2 separate regions of the Homo sapiens genome follow, and region 2 is linked to region 1. Evidence: promoter capture Hi-C in human tissues and cell types (Jung and others, 2019). All regions are on one chromosome and are shown on one strand. Each heading gives the region's core, a stretch centred on a gene start or on the middle of the fragment in contact. The rest is flanking DNA. Distances are from core to core; before and after follow the strand shown. Region 1 holds the start of UGT2B15 (UDP glucuronosyltransferase family 2 member B15). Region 2 has its middle 69 kb from the start of UGT2B15.

What was found. Contacts are between HindIII fragments. The study calls those that stand out against the background at their distance.
Region 2: a fragment that was not itself captured here is called in contact with the fragment with the promoter of UGT2B15 in region 1 in 4 of the 25 tissues and cell types used here (adrenal gland, dorsolateral prefrontal cortex, heart left ventricle and 1 more).

What each region holds. Positions count from the first base shown.
Region 1 is chr4:68,667,164-68,674,231 of GRCh38, forward strand. UGT2B15 (UDP glucuronosyltransferase family 2 member B15) reads right to left here and starts at 3,489. Exons shown (of 6, transcript NM_001076.4): 1 at 2,732-3,489; 2 at 877-1,025. The coding sequence starts at 3,455. The HindIII fragment of the contact is 11,998 bases long and covers 1-6,316 here.
Region 2 is chr4:68,735,980-68,743,047 of GRCh38, forward strand. No RefSeq gene overlaps it. Among named protein-coding and RNA genes, the nearest start is that of UGT2B15, 69 kb to the left of the region's middle. The HindIII fragment of the contact is 5,251 bases long and covers 901-6,151 here.

The sequences.
Region 1 (7,068 bases), core at 2,239-4,738:
TTTATTTGTTTGTTTTTGAGACAGAGTCTCGCTCTGTCGCACAGGCTAGAGTTCAGTGGTGTGGTCTCAGCTCACTGCAGCCTCTGCTCCCAGACTCAAGCAAGCCTCCTGCCTCAGCCTCTTAAGTAGCTACGACTATGAGACTACAGGCACACACCAGCATGCCTGGCTATTATTTTATTTTTTATTTTTGTTAGAGATGAGGTTTTACCACGTTTCCCAGGCTGGTCTCAAACTCCTGAGCCCAAGCAATCATGCCTTCTCTGCCTCCCAAAGTGCAGGGATTATAGGTGTGAGCCACCTTGCCTGGCCTCTGGTTTTCTTTTTGGGTGTTTATCAACCCCTCATCGTTTCACCTATCTCTGCACATTATTGAGTACTCACTTTAATTGTCAATGAGTTTGGGATCTCTTCTGCATATTTCTTTATCATTGTGGTCTTTCCTTATAACACTTTTTAGACTTTTCTTTTTCACTTGTTTTTATTCTATCTTTCAAAGTACAATGTAAGGCATGAGGGAGCAGAAACTGTGCTACCTTTATTCTCTGAAAATCCAGCACTTACCTGTGGTTTGTATTAATCACTCTACAAATATTTTTTGAAGAAATGAATCATACTATCTTTTGGGTGGCACAATGAAGGCCTTACTTTAACCAACCCTGTTTTCAAAATCTCCCTAGTAAACCTCTTTGGTCTTTAATGATAATAACATTCACATACTTGTGATACTACAGAAATATATGATTTTCTAATGGCAAGTCCTTGTTTTTGACCTCCCATATTCCCCTCACTCTGAGTTAAACACTCTGAAAGAAACATATCCAGCCATTCCTTCTGAAAATGTCAAGCAAACAAATGAAACAAGAATACATTTACCTTAGGCAGGGGTTTGGCTGGTTTACAGTGAAGTCCTCCAACAAAATCAACATTTGGTAAGAATGGGCGAGGAAATTCAAAATCCCAATAGGTTCGAATGAGCCACATTTCAGCTTTCCCCATTGTCTCAAATAATGTAGTGGGTCTTCCTGATGGAAAAAAACAAAACAAAACAAAAGGTAGCTAACACGAGAATTGTTATTTGAATATGCAGGTATTTTCCTGAAAGGACTTGGAATAACATACCCAAACATATATAAAATGTCTGTGCATTGATAAAATATATATAAATACATTTATATATAGTCATAATTTAGATTTTATTTATTGCATATGTTGCTCATATGTATATATAAGGAAGGCAATGTATTCAGAGATCTGTAAGAAGAAATCACATCTTTAATGTAACATCAGTATATTCACAATCATAAATAATTATTAAAATAAGTCACTAATATGGTTTGACTGTCCCCACCCAAATCTCCTCTCATCTTGAATTATAATCCCCATAATCCCCATGTGTCCAGGGAGGGACCCAGTGGCAGGTGATTGGATCATGGTGTGGATTCCTCCATGCTGTTCTCATGATATTGAGTGAGCTCTCATGAGATCTGATAGTTTTATAAGTGTCTAGTATTTCCCCTGCTTGCACTTCTCTCTCCTGCCACTAAGTGAGAAGATCCAAGCTTGCTTCCCCTTAGCCTTTCACCATGATTCTAAGTTTCTTGAGGCATCCCAGTCATGTAGAACTGAGTCTATTAAACTTCTTTTCTTTATAAATTACCCAGTCTCAGGTATTTCTTTACAGCAGTGTGAGAATGGACTAATGTAGCCACTATGAACTTAAATACACATTTGTCTTCCCTCTGAAGCTGCAATAGTAACAAATATACCTTTAAACAACTCTTTCAGTTCCACAATTAATTCATCTTACCTTACCCATGAAAACAGCTTTCCAGGAAGTACTCTAGTGTCTACAGTTTATTAAGCTAGTCCCTTGATCCTTGGTTCTCAAAGTAAACCATGAGTTTTTTGAGCTCAACACTGAAATCTTTACACCTACTACTGTCTTGGTTCATCTTAAGATCTTAATATAATTAGATTTTTAAAATAAATATATTTACAAATGAGAATTAAAACATTTTCAGAATTTATTGACATAGAGATATGTGCTCTCCCTTAATTTGGCCCCTATTTTCTTTGATGGAGAGATGCAGTTTAATAAAATATAGATTAAAACTTAGATGTTCACTTTCAACAAGATTTCAGTTTTTGAAAGAAATAATTGTCAACCTGTTATTGAAGGAATGTATAAACATTAGAAATCTCAAGTTTTAGGCTTCTGTTTCTGGAGTAGAGCCACTATATTACTCAACTGTGAAGGAATCCTTCTTACATGAAAAACAAAATTTAATTTCTAAATGAGGAAACTGAGGAACTCAAAGAGAAACAAATTCCTCAATCCTGCATTGATAATTTTTCTAGAAATATGTGTAAATACTAAATTTATGTGTCTGCCTTCATGAAGATGTTTCTTGAGGTATCTATTGACTTTTTTTAAAGATGAAAAAATGTATAGCAAAATGATATGTGATAGTTTAAAGAAATCATTAGTGCTTTACAATGAAGGTTTATGACTCTCTGGGTGTCCTGTAGTAGTGATGGCCCCAGGGTTCTAACTGATTCTATAAGGTCAACATTCTATAATATTTTTGAGACTGATAGATCATCTTACATTTGCAATTCATAATTTCCCTTAAAAACACTATCTTCTGACATTATATTTATATAAGCTCACCTTCAAAGGCACAGAAAAGTTAGAACTTAATAAGCACCAGTTAGACACATGACTTACCTAGAACTTCACTATAAAACTGGTCCCACTTCTTCAGATCATAAATTTGAAACCAAAAGTCAAAATAAAGCATATGTATCATATTTTTTATCCTCTCCATGAAAATCATTTGATCACTTAATTCTGACATAACAACAGGTACATAGGAAGGAGGGAACAGAAATCCTCCACCATTCTTCTCAAATGTGTAGCCAACAGAGAATCGAAGACTGTACAGAAAGGGTATGTTAAATAGTTCAGCCAGTAGCTCACCACAGGGATTAAGGGCATCTGCCAGAATGACATCAAACTTTGACTCTTGTAGTTTCATCATAAGTTTCTTATTCAAAACTGCATCTTTACAGAGCTTGTTACTGTAGTCATAATATTCCCAACACAATTCTTGTAATTGTGAAAAATATGACCAAAATGTATTTTTTGAAACACCATATATCCATCTATCGAGAATTTTCAGAAGAGAATCTTCCAAATAATTTTTAGTTAAAGATGTAGGATAAACTTCTAATTTAATAGCAGATGATTTACTGGCATTGACAAGAGTAGAAGCCGAAGATGTCAACACAGTCACCTCATGACCCCTCTGAACAAGCTCTTCCAGGATTGTCTTCATATTTATCCAATGGCTGTATTCTGTGGGCCACACTAGCACCTTTCCACAGCTTCCAGAGCTAAAGTAACAACTGAGCTGTATCAGCAGAAAGACTGACGTCCATTTCAGAGACATCCTGGTCTTATGCAATGCTTCTTTTCCAGTTGTTGTTTCTTTCTGTCATTTCTCATACTTATATCTGAGGAAAAATCAATCAAGTTAAAATATAACTGCTAAAATTTGAAGTAAATACATAATACTAACAGTCTGAATAGGTGCATGCCAAGGAGACCAACAAAAGATTGATGACCTCATATTTATTTTAGTGTGTTTGGTGTTCTTTTATGTTTACAATTACTCTAGTCAAGCAATAATTTTTATGACCTAGAATATGTAAGTAACCTGTCTTATGTAATTATTTTATAATACTGTTAAGAACAGTGGCAAGTGAGAGGCTCCTGCCTGTTCGGTGCCCTTGACATAGAGAGAAGAAGTAATTATACAACTCAAACGGCATTTTTTAATATCGTGGTGCAAGTAATGTCTTCTAAAACTTTGTTGACACATAATTCATATACCATATGACTCACCAATTAGTGTGTACAGTTCAATGTTTCCTAGTATATTCACAGAATTTTACATCCACTACAATAATCAGTATTATCTCCAAAAGATTCTATACAATAGCCTCTAACCCCCCACTCTGAAATTTTGCATCCATCCTACCCTAGGCAACCACTAATCTAATTTCTATCTCTATAGATTAGCATTTTCTGGACCCTTTAAAAAATAAATGAGGGTTTTCCAGTGATCATGGCAGATGGGATGCAGGACTAGATTGCAGCTCCAGACAGAGCAGCATGCAGAGGCTTGCATTGTGAATTTTAGCTGCAGATCAACTGCAAGAACAGACCAGCAATTCTGAGAGGATCCACACACCCTCTGCAGGAAGAGTACTGCTCCTGCAGGACCTGGGAGACATCCCAAACACTGTGAGTGCCCCAACAATGGAAGTGGGAAAGGGTGATCCCCCTCTCCAGAATACACATCCCCACTGGAGAAGCTGAAGTTCTGTTTGCAGGAGAAGTTCCTGACTTTATGTGAAGCTGAGTCAAATTAGAGAACCAAGCCAAGCAAAATACAGGGGTAGAGGAAGTAGCAGAAAGGCACTGGGAGCTCTCTGGATACCCAAGCGGCTCATTCCTGCCTGGCATCACAGGGATCTATCAGGAGGGTGGCCAGTGATGCAGGGGGTTCAAAGATTCTCCTCAGGACCTGAAGGCTTGAAGGGATGAGTAACTCCTCCCTTCTCAGGCCCAGCCCCAAGATGCAAGACCACTTGCATCAGCAGCGTGTGTCAGCAAGATAGCAGAAGCAGGAAGAGAGCCGGCCAGAAGACACTTACCCTGGCTGGAAGAGATGTACCCCTGAAGATCAAGAAATAGGCCATCCAGGTACTACATAGCAGTCACAACAGACTGGGACACTTACTGTTTACAGAGGACTACAAAACCCCTGTCCCATCCTCACTTGGGGCTGATGCCATTTTAGGCCTCAGCCCACCTGCAACCAGGCGTTCATTAAAACAGCATGTTGCTCCACACCGCCTCCTGTTGTCTGTTGGCGCGCTGTTGGGGTTCAAACTGATTCAAGAACCTTACATCTGGTGCCAAATCCTAGGAGGGGCTCAGGTCTGTGTCGCTTGTGGACCTATCCCTCCACCCCAGAGAGCAGGCCACAGCAATTAGACAGAGGAAGCTCCTCAGCCTCCAGTCGCCTCTCTGTGCATGCGCATCAGCCACTGATCTCGCCTACTGGTAAGTTTCCCTTGGAGCCCGGTTAACAGGGCAAAATCTACATGGCCTCTCTTGGTTTCTCCAGTCCAAAAATCCAACACTGATCCAAGAAGGCGCCAGCGTGCGCCAGGCACTCGCTGGTCATCTGGTCTTAGGGGGATGCCTCTAAGCCATTTCATCCCGTTCCAGGAACCAAAAAGGCAGCGGAGACGATAACTCCTTTTATCGTCTCCCTCCAGCTGTCCAGGATGGTCTCCTTTTTCCCTGTTCTCTCGAGCTACCCTTCATTATGGGAAACTCCCGGTCCTCAATTCCAAAAAACAGCCCTCCAGCCTGCCTCATTAAAAATCTGCAAACCTTAGGCCTCAGGCAAGATATCTGCCATAAGTGCCTTGTCTTTTTTATACGATAAAGCCTGGTCGCAGTATGAATTAGATAACGGGTCCAAATGGCCCGCAAATGGAACACTCAGCTTTACAGTTTTAACTGACTTAAGCAGTTATTGCAGATGACTGGGAAAATGGGGAGAAATTCCTTGTGTCCAGGCCTTTTTGCACTCAGATCACAGCCCGACCTCTGCAATTCTTGCTTACCTGTTCAAATCCTTCTTCATTCTCGCCGCCCTCATTGCCTTTATCCTCCCGACCCTACCTCTTTTTCCTCATTGGATGGAGCAGACTGCTGTCCACCCCTCCCAGACCCTACCCCTCCATCTCAACCAACTTCATTAACTCCCCAAGCTTCCTCATTGTCTTCTCAGCCACCATCTTCCCAGCCACCATCTTCCCAGCCAGCATCACCCACTTCTTTTCCTATACCATCCTCTCCTCAGGAAAACTCTAGCATTGCCTGTACTCATTCTCCTTCCTTACAGCCCTCTCACGGAGCCTGTAAACCCATCCCGCCACCTTACACCCGTATCTATCCTCCAATGCCTATCAACTCAACCCCCCTTCCCTCTTCAAACCCTCAGCAGGAACCCCTTCTGGCTTCTTCCTTCTCTCCTGCCCATACTAGCTCCGGCACCATCTTTGGCCCATGCCCCACCCGTACTTTAGCGCCAGTGCTAGAATGCCCCCTTCGGGAAGTAGCAGGAACTGAAGGTATTGTTAGAGTTCATGTTCCCTTCTCCCTCACTGATCTCTCTCAAACTAACAAAAGACTCAGTTCATTTCCAGAAGATCCTACCTCTTATATTAGGGAGATTCAGTACCTTACTCAGTCTTATGAACTAACCTGGCATGACAGCTACTTATCTTCTCTTCCACCCTCACCCCAGAAGACCAGCACCGTACTTGGACCCTAGCTCAGGTGCATGCTAATACAATTCATCATCAAGCTCCTGCCCAGCCTACTGGCACAGAGGCAGTTCCCAACCAGGACCCCCACTGGGATTATCAAGACAGGGCCTCTGGACACAGCCATCAAGACCTCATGATTATGTGTCTCCTTGCAGGACTCAAAAAGGGTGCCCATAAAGTGGTAAACTATGAAAAACTTTCAGAAATCACCGAAGGTCCTGACAAAAACCCAGCCCTTTTTCTCTCTTGTTTAACTGAAGCCATGAGAAAATTACCAACCTGGACCCAGCCAGCCCAGAAGGAACCACTATTTCAAACCTTCAGTTCCTCACCCAATCTACCATGATATTTGGCGCAAGCTTCAGAAGGTTGATGACGGCCCTCAAACCCCACAGTGGGACCTTCTTAATTTAGCCTTCAAAGTCTTTAACAGTTGTGATGAGGAAAGTAAAAGAAAAAAACAGTTTCCAATGCTTGCCTTTACCCTGCAGGCCCACAGGGCCACAGCTCCATACAGAAGCCTCCTAGCAAAACACCTCCACCTGGCGCCTGTTTCAAGTGTGGCAATGAAGGCTACTGGTCCAGGCCATGCCCAAACCCAGCTGTGCTCACCAGGCTGTGCCCCCTCTGTGGAGGACTCAGTGAAAGTCA
Region 2 (7,068 bases), core at 2,276-4,775, 69 kb after region 1:
GGAGAAGAAAGGAAAAAGAAGGCACCTTTTAAAGAAGTCCCAGGGGGTCATGATGCATTCAAAATGGGTACAGACTGAAGGTGAATGGCTACTCACCTAGGAAGAGGGTGGCAGGTGTCCCTAGTTCTCTTCTCTTTCTAGCAGATACCTGGGGTACATGAGGGAGAAAGAGCATCCTCTTTTCTTCTTCCGTCCTTGCTTCCCCGAGTGCTGGTAACCTTGGTATGTGCTGAAACAGGTGTCAAAGCAACATGCACCCATGAACCAGTGGGGCCTAGGGGGTGAGAACATTCACTCTTACCCACTTACCCACATACACCCTATCTCCCCTGCTTTCAGTAGTCTGGGAGTCCCTAGACCTCATCTATGCCATGGATACTAACAAGGCTTTTATCCATGAACCAGGGAGCTTGGGCTTCACTTAATTGGCAGGAAACAGCCACACTCACCTGCACTGTGCATTTTGTTGCACAAAGTAGGGGCTTATCCTGCCTTAGGGACTGACTCTTTTTCAGGTTTGATATCTGCATGTTTTCCTTGGCCTGGCTCTTATAAAACCCCACCCAGGAACTGGGTTTTCTCCTGCCTGTCTGCGTGTGTGTTATGTGTAATGTCTGCAGAAAGAGCTCTAAATGATTTTGGCCTGAAAAAGACAAACACTTGCATCTAATATTTTTTAAAGAGAAGTTAAAAACTGTGGTACCGTTCAGTTCACGTGACTTTAATCTTTGAGAAATAGGAAGAGGCTTAAAGATTAATGGTAAAAAGCAGATGTCATTACAGTGTAAATAGGTGGACTAAATAACGCAATGGTGTCTTTGTCCATCTCAGGGCCATGAAAATTTAGGCTGGCAGATGGTTCAACAGGTGAGTAAAGCAGGGTTTTATTGGGTGAAAAGGAAAAAAAAAGGGGAAACAGGGATCTTCCACAAGGCTGGAGACCCCTGCCAGAGTGCTTCCCACTAGCAGCTTGAATCCCAGGTTCCACATGGGATATTTGCCGGGCTCCTCCCTGTTGCAAACAGTGCAAAATTCCTGAGGTTCCACCCCAGTGCACATTCCTCCCAGTGCACAGGCTTGTTGGAGATTCTCTGGGGACCTCCTTCTCCTCTGACTAGCTCAGTGGTCAATTCTATGTTTTGTTTGCCTGGTAAATACTTCATCTCTCATTTATATTTGATTGATAATTATTTTTGTTTCAATATTTTTTGGTGGCATCCTTTTGTGTTGAGCACTTTGAAAACATCATTCCAGTCCTTCCTGGTCTGTATAGTTTCTTTTGGGAAGTCTATCTCCATAAATATTGGCGCTGTTTTATATGTTATTTGCTTTCACTTGCTGATTTCAATCTTTTTTCTTTAATGTATTTTTTTTTGTCCTTTGTGACTTTGATTATTTTGTTAATTGGGGTAGTCTTATTTGGGTTTGCATTGTGTTCTAAGACCTTTCTGTACCTGGACATTTTATGTTTCTCAAGTTTTGAAAAGTTTTTTGTTACTATTTTTTTGAATGAGCGTTCTACCCTTGCTCTTACTCACATCTCTCTTGAACACCAATAATTCTTAGACTGGGTCTTTTGAAGTAATTTTCTATATTTTGTAGGTGGCACTTGCTTTTTTATTCTCTCTTGACTTTTTAAAAATAAAATAACGAGTCTTAGAGCTCACAGATTCTTTTCTGGGCTTGGATCATTCTGTGGTTTAAGACCTCTAATGGATTTTGAATTCAGCAAATGCATTTCTTAGTTCCAAGATTTCTGATTGATTTCTTTGTATTATTTTAACCTTTTTGTTAAATTTCTCGGATAAATTTCTGAAATAACTTCCTGTGTTAACTTAGACATTACTAAGTTTTCTTAAAACTGCTATTTTGTATTCTGGGTCAGAGAGCTCAGAAATTGGGTTATCTTATTAGTGTCAATCACTAGATTTTTGCATTGTCCTTTTGGAGAGGTCCTGGTTCCCTGTTCTCTGTTGTTTCTTGTGAATATATGCATGCCTTTGCATTGAAGGATTATTTGTTCCATTTTTTTTCTGTCTTTTTTTAATGGAATATATTTGCTTAGAAAATCTTTACCGAAAAGTCACTGCATTCACTTTAGTTCTAGGTGACATGTTAAGCCCAGGTTTACCTCAGCTCATGTGAATGATTAGAGCTCTGCCTGTCCCAAGTGATGGGGGTTCCAAATGGATTATCCTGGAAGTGTGAGAACACTGCCTAAGGGCTTGTTCCCAGTATACCTAAAGAACTTACATCCTACAGCATGCTGTTGCTAAGCAACTACTCTGATTTGAGGTCAATTTTTGGCTGAGTTACGGAGAAGAGTTTCCATGTCTAAGAGGTTGGTAGTCCTGCCTCTCTTTTTTGTCTCTGCCTGTCCTCAGGAATGTTTCTCCCTTCATGCACTCATAACATTTCCACTGGGTTAAGGAAAGACAGGTCTACCAGGGAACTTGATAAGATGGGGAAGCTTAGTGACCATATCAGTTTGTCTTTCTCTCATTTATATAAAAATTACTTGACATTGAGTAATTTATAAAGTAAAGAGGCTTAATTGCCTCACATTCTGTATGCTATACAGGAAGCATAGTGGCTTCTACCTCTCAGGAGGCCTCAGGAAGCTTGCAATCATAGTGGAAGGCAAAAGGGCAGTCAACACCTCATATGGCCAGAGCAAGAGGAAGGGAGTTGTAGGAGGTGCTACACACTTTTAAACAAACAGATCTCTTGAGAATGCTGTTACAAGAACAGCACCAAAGGGATAGTGCTGAATCATTCATGAAAGATCCACCTGATGATCCAATCACCTCCCAGAAAACCCATCTCCAACACTGGTGATTACAACTGAAAATGAGATTTGGGTGGGGACACAGATCCAAATCATATTGTAAATCATGAATTGGAGATAGATATTCTGCGTTTTTGGTGCAGAGCAGAGTTGCAAGTTAGGGGCATTATTAATGTAGACATAGACATATAATTCCCCTACGTAGTGTCTACTCAGACTTTTTCTACTTTTATGACACTGGGAAATGTGTTATCCTCTTAATTAAGCTTTTGGTTGTTGTGGTGTAGATCTCAGTGCCATATGTTTGTTTTGTTTTGTTTTGCATGAAGAAAAAAAGGCTGCTTGTCTCTACTCTGCCATTTTGGAACCAGAAGTCTCTTGCTCCGTATATTCTTAATAAACGTTTCTTATCAGATATATGAATTAGAACTTTTTAAATTCTACTTATCATCAGTACACTTTTTTGATGGTGTCCTTTCAAGAACAAACATATTCATTTATAAGAATATCAGTTTATCCATTTTAACTTAGTTTTTTGTGACTTTGTTGCCTTGTCCTAGAAACCATTGCCAAATTGAAGATAGAAAAGATTTACTTTTTCTATTCTGGGTTTTGTACTTCTGTTTGTTAACTTTGGGTTGTTGATGTATTTTAAATTAGTTCTTTATGTGTTGTCAGAGAAAGTGTATCTTGTTTTTTTGGCCTTTGGATAATCAGTCTCCCAGAAGTATTTGTGGAAAATATTGTTGTTTTCCTATTCAATAGTTTGACGTCTTTCTCAAAAATTAAGTCACCACTGTGTAAAAGGATTTCTGGATTCTAAAATCTGTTCCATTTATTTATATGGTGATCTGTGTTCCTGTGTCACACTCTTATAACTATTGATGATATGTTGTTGGTTGAAAATCGGAAATGCAAGGACTAAATTATTTTTCAAAATATTACTGGTTATTGAGATTGTGCCACTGCACTCCAGCCTGGCCACAGAGCAAGACTCTGTCTCAAAAAAATTATACATATATATATATATATATATATATATATATATATATTGTGTGTGTGTATATATATATAGTGTGTATATATATAGTGTGTATATATATAGTATATATACACACACACACGTATGTGTATGTGTGTATATATATATATATATCTCGCTATTTTTTGGTCTCCTGTATATCTATATTAATTTAGAATGAGCATGTTTATTTCTGTAAAGAACCCAGCTGGGAATTTAATATGGATTTTGGTTAATTTGTTTATTAATTAAGATTTTCAATTGAGGAATATGAGATTTTATTTATTCATTAAGAATTTTATTCCTCAATATTTAGTAACTTTTACAATTTAAGTTTTAAGTTTCGCAATTTATTTTATTTTTTTGAGATGGAGTCTCATTCTGTCACCCAGGTTGGAGTATAATGGTGCCATCTCAGCTCACTACAACCTCCACCTCCCAGGTTCAAGTGATTCTCCTGCTTCAGCCTCCCAAGTAGCTGGGATTACAGGCTCACGCCACCACGCCTGGCTAATTTTTTATATCTTTAGTAGAGCTGGGGCTTCACCATGTTGGCCAGGCTGGTCTCGAACTTCTGACCTCATGGTCTGCCCGCCTCGGCCTCCCAAAGTGCTGGGACTACAGGCATGAGCCACTGCACCTGGCCTAAGTTTTGCAATTCTTTTAATGTTTTTCCTGTTTTTTTAAAATAATTTTTGATTATATTTTATGTAGGATTTTTGAACATGTTATTTTCTTCTGTATTGTTCAATTATGTAACAATACAATTAATATTTGAAGGTTGACCGTTAGTCCTAAAAATGTGCTTATTTTGTTGTTGATCTAATATTTTCTAGGAAAGTCTAAGATATTCTTTACATAAGGTCATGCCTTTTGTCAACAAAGAGAGTGTACTTATTTCTTACCTTCTAATAAGGATTATTTTTGTTTTGTGTTACTTCCTATTTGCTTTGGCTGGAATCTCCAATATAATGTTGAATAGAAGTAATAAGAATGAATGTCTAGTCTTTTCCTTATTTTAGAAAAAAATGAGTTAATCTTCATAATAGGTGTCTCCAGACAAAAAGAGCCATGTATGAATACACACACATTAGTACACACCTATGAGGGAGGATTTTATTGTAGGAATTTGCTTAGGCTGAGAAATATTATGATATACACTTACACACTTTATATTTAGGAAAGCTGATGCTGTAATTCAATCTGAGACTGAAGGCCTTAGAACTAGGAGAAATAGTTGTGTAATTATTTGTCTGAGGATGATGGCCTTAGAACTTAAGGAGCTACAAGTGGGGTTTACTAGTGCAAACCCTAGTGTCCAATGGCCCAATATCCAGAAGCCTCAAATAAAGAAGGCAGAATAATATTAATGTCCCAGCCAAAGAAAAGAGAAATATTTGTCTTCTTCTGCCTTTTGCTCTATTTGGGTTCTTAACGGATTGGATGATACCTGCCCACAATCATGAGAGATATCTTTAGTCAGTCTACTGATTTAAATACTAATCTCTTTTTAAAGTATTGTAACGTTTGTCACAGAATCATAAAAATATCTATCCTAAAATTCATACAAACCCCAAAATAGCCAAATAAATCATAAACTAAAAGAAGAAAGCCAGAGGCATCAAATTACCTAATTTCAAAGGATATTAAAAGCCTGTAGTAACTAAAACAGCATGGTAGTAGTACAAAAACAGAGACATAGAGCAATGGAACAGAATAGAGAACCAAATAATAAAGCCACACACCTACTGCCACCTGATTTTTAATGAAGTCAGGAATAACAAGCAATGAAGAAAGAACCCTCTATTCAATAAATGATGCTGTGATAATTGTATAGTCATATGCAGAAGACTGAAATTTGACCTCTTCCTTTCACCACATACAGATATCAACTCAAGGTGTATTAAATACTTAAATGTAAAATCTAAGACTATATAAATATGAGAAGAAAACCTCAGAAATACCATCCTGGATACAAGCCCTGGCCAAAGTTTTATGACAATTACCCCAAAAGGAAATTGTAACAAAAAAAAAATTGACAAGTGAGACCTAATTAAACTAAAGAACTTGTGCACAGAAAAACATTCAATAACATAAACAGATAACCTACAGAATAGGAGAAAACATTTCAATACTATGCATCCAACAAAGGACTAATGTTTAGAATCTAGAAGGAACTTAAACAAATTAACAAGCAAAAAAGAAAAATCCCACTAAAGAGTGGCCAAAAGAGAACAGACACTTCTCAAGAATAAGTACACATGGCCAACAAGCATATGAAAAAATACTCAACATTACTAATCATCAGAGAAAAGAAAATCATAAAAACCACTATAAGATACCATCCCCCCTAGTCAGAATGAATATCATTAAAAAGCACAAAATGACAGGTGTTGGCAAGATTAGGGAGAAAAGAGGATGCTCATACACTGTTCGTGGGAATGTAAATTAGTTCAGCCACTGTAGAAAGCAGTTTGAAGATTTTTCAAATAACCTAAAATAGAATTACCATTTTACCCATCAATCGCATTACTGGGTATATACCCAAAGGACTGTAAGTTGTTCTACCAGAAAGACACATGCACACCTACGTTTATCAACAGCATCACAGTACTATTCATAATAGCAAAAACATGGAATCAATCTATATGCCCAACAATGGTGGCCTGGATAAAGAAAATATGGTACACATATAAATGATGGAATACTATGCAGCAATGAAAAAAAAACAAAATCATGTCTCTTGAGCAACACAGATGCAGCTGGAATTCATTACCCTAGGCAAATTACCACCAGAAAGGAAAACCAAATACCACATATTCTCAGTTGTAAGTGGGAACTAAACATTGAGTACCTATGGACAAAGAGAAAGGAATAATAGGCAATGGGAAATATGTGAAAGTGTAGAATGAGAGATCTATGAGAATCAAAAAACTACCTACCAGGTACTGTATTAACTATCTTGGTGATGAAATAATTTTTACACAAAAACCCTGTGACATGAAATTTACTCATGAAGAAGTTGACACTTTAACCTTCTGAACCTAAAGTAAAATTTAGAGGAGGAAAAATGAAATGCTCTCACAGATAAATCCAGAAATAATTTTTTTTTTTTTTAGCTATTTGGTAATCTCTTAAACCAGTCAAGTTGACACATAAAATTAACCATCATAGTTGTGCAATTATTTTTTGTGGCATTTATATTGTGCAATATATTTTATGGCATTTTCAGTGCAATTGTATTATTTTATATTGGATA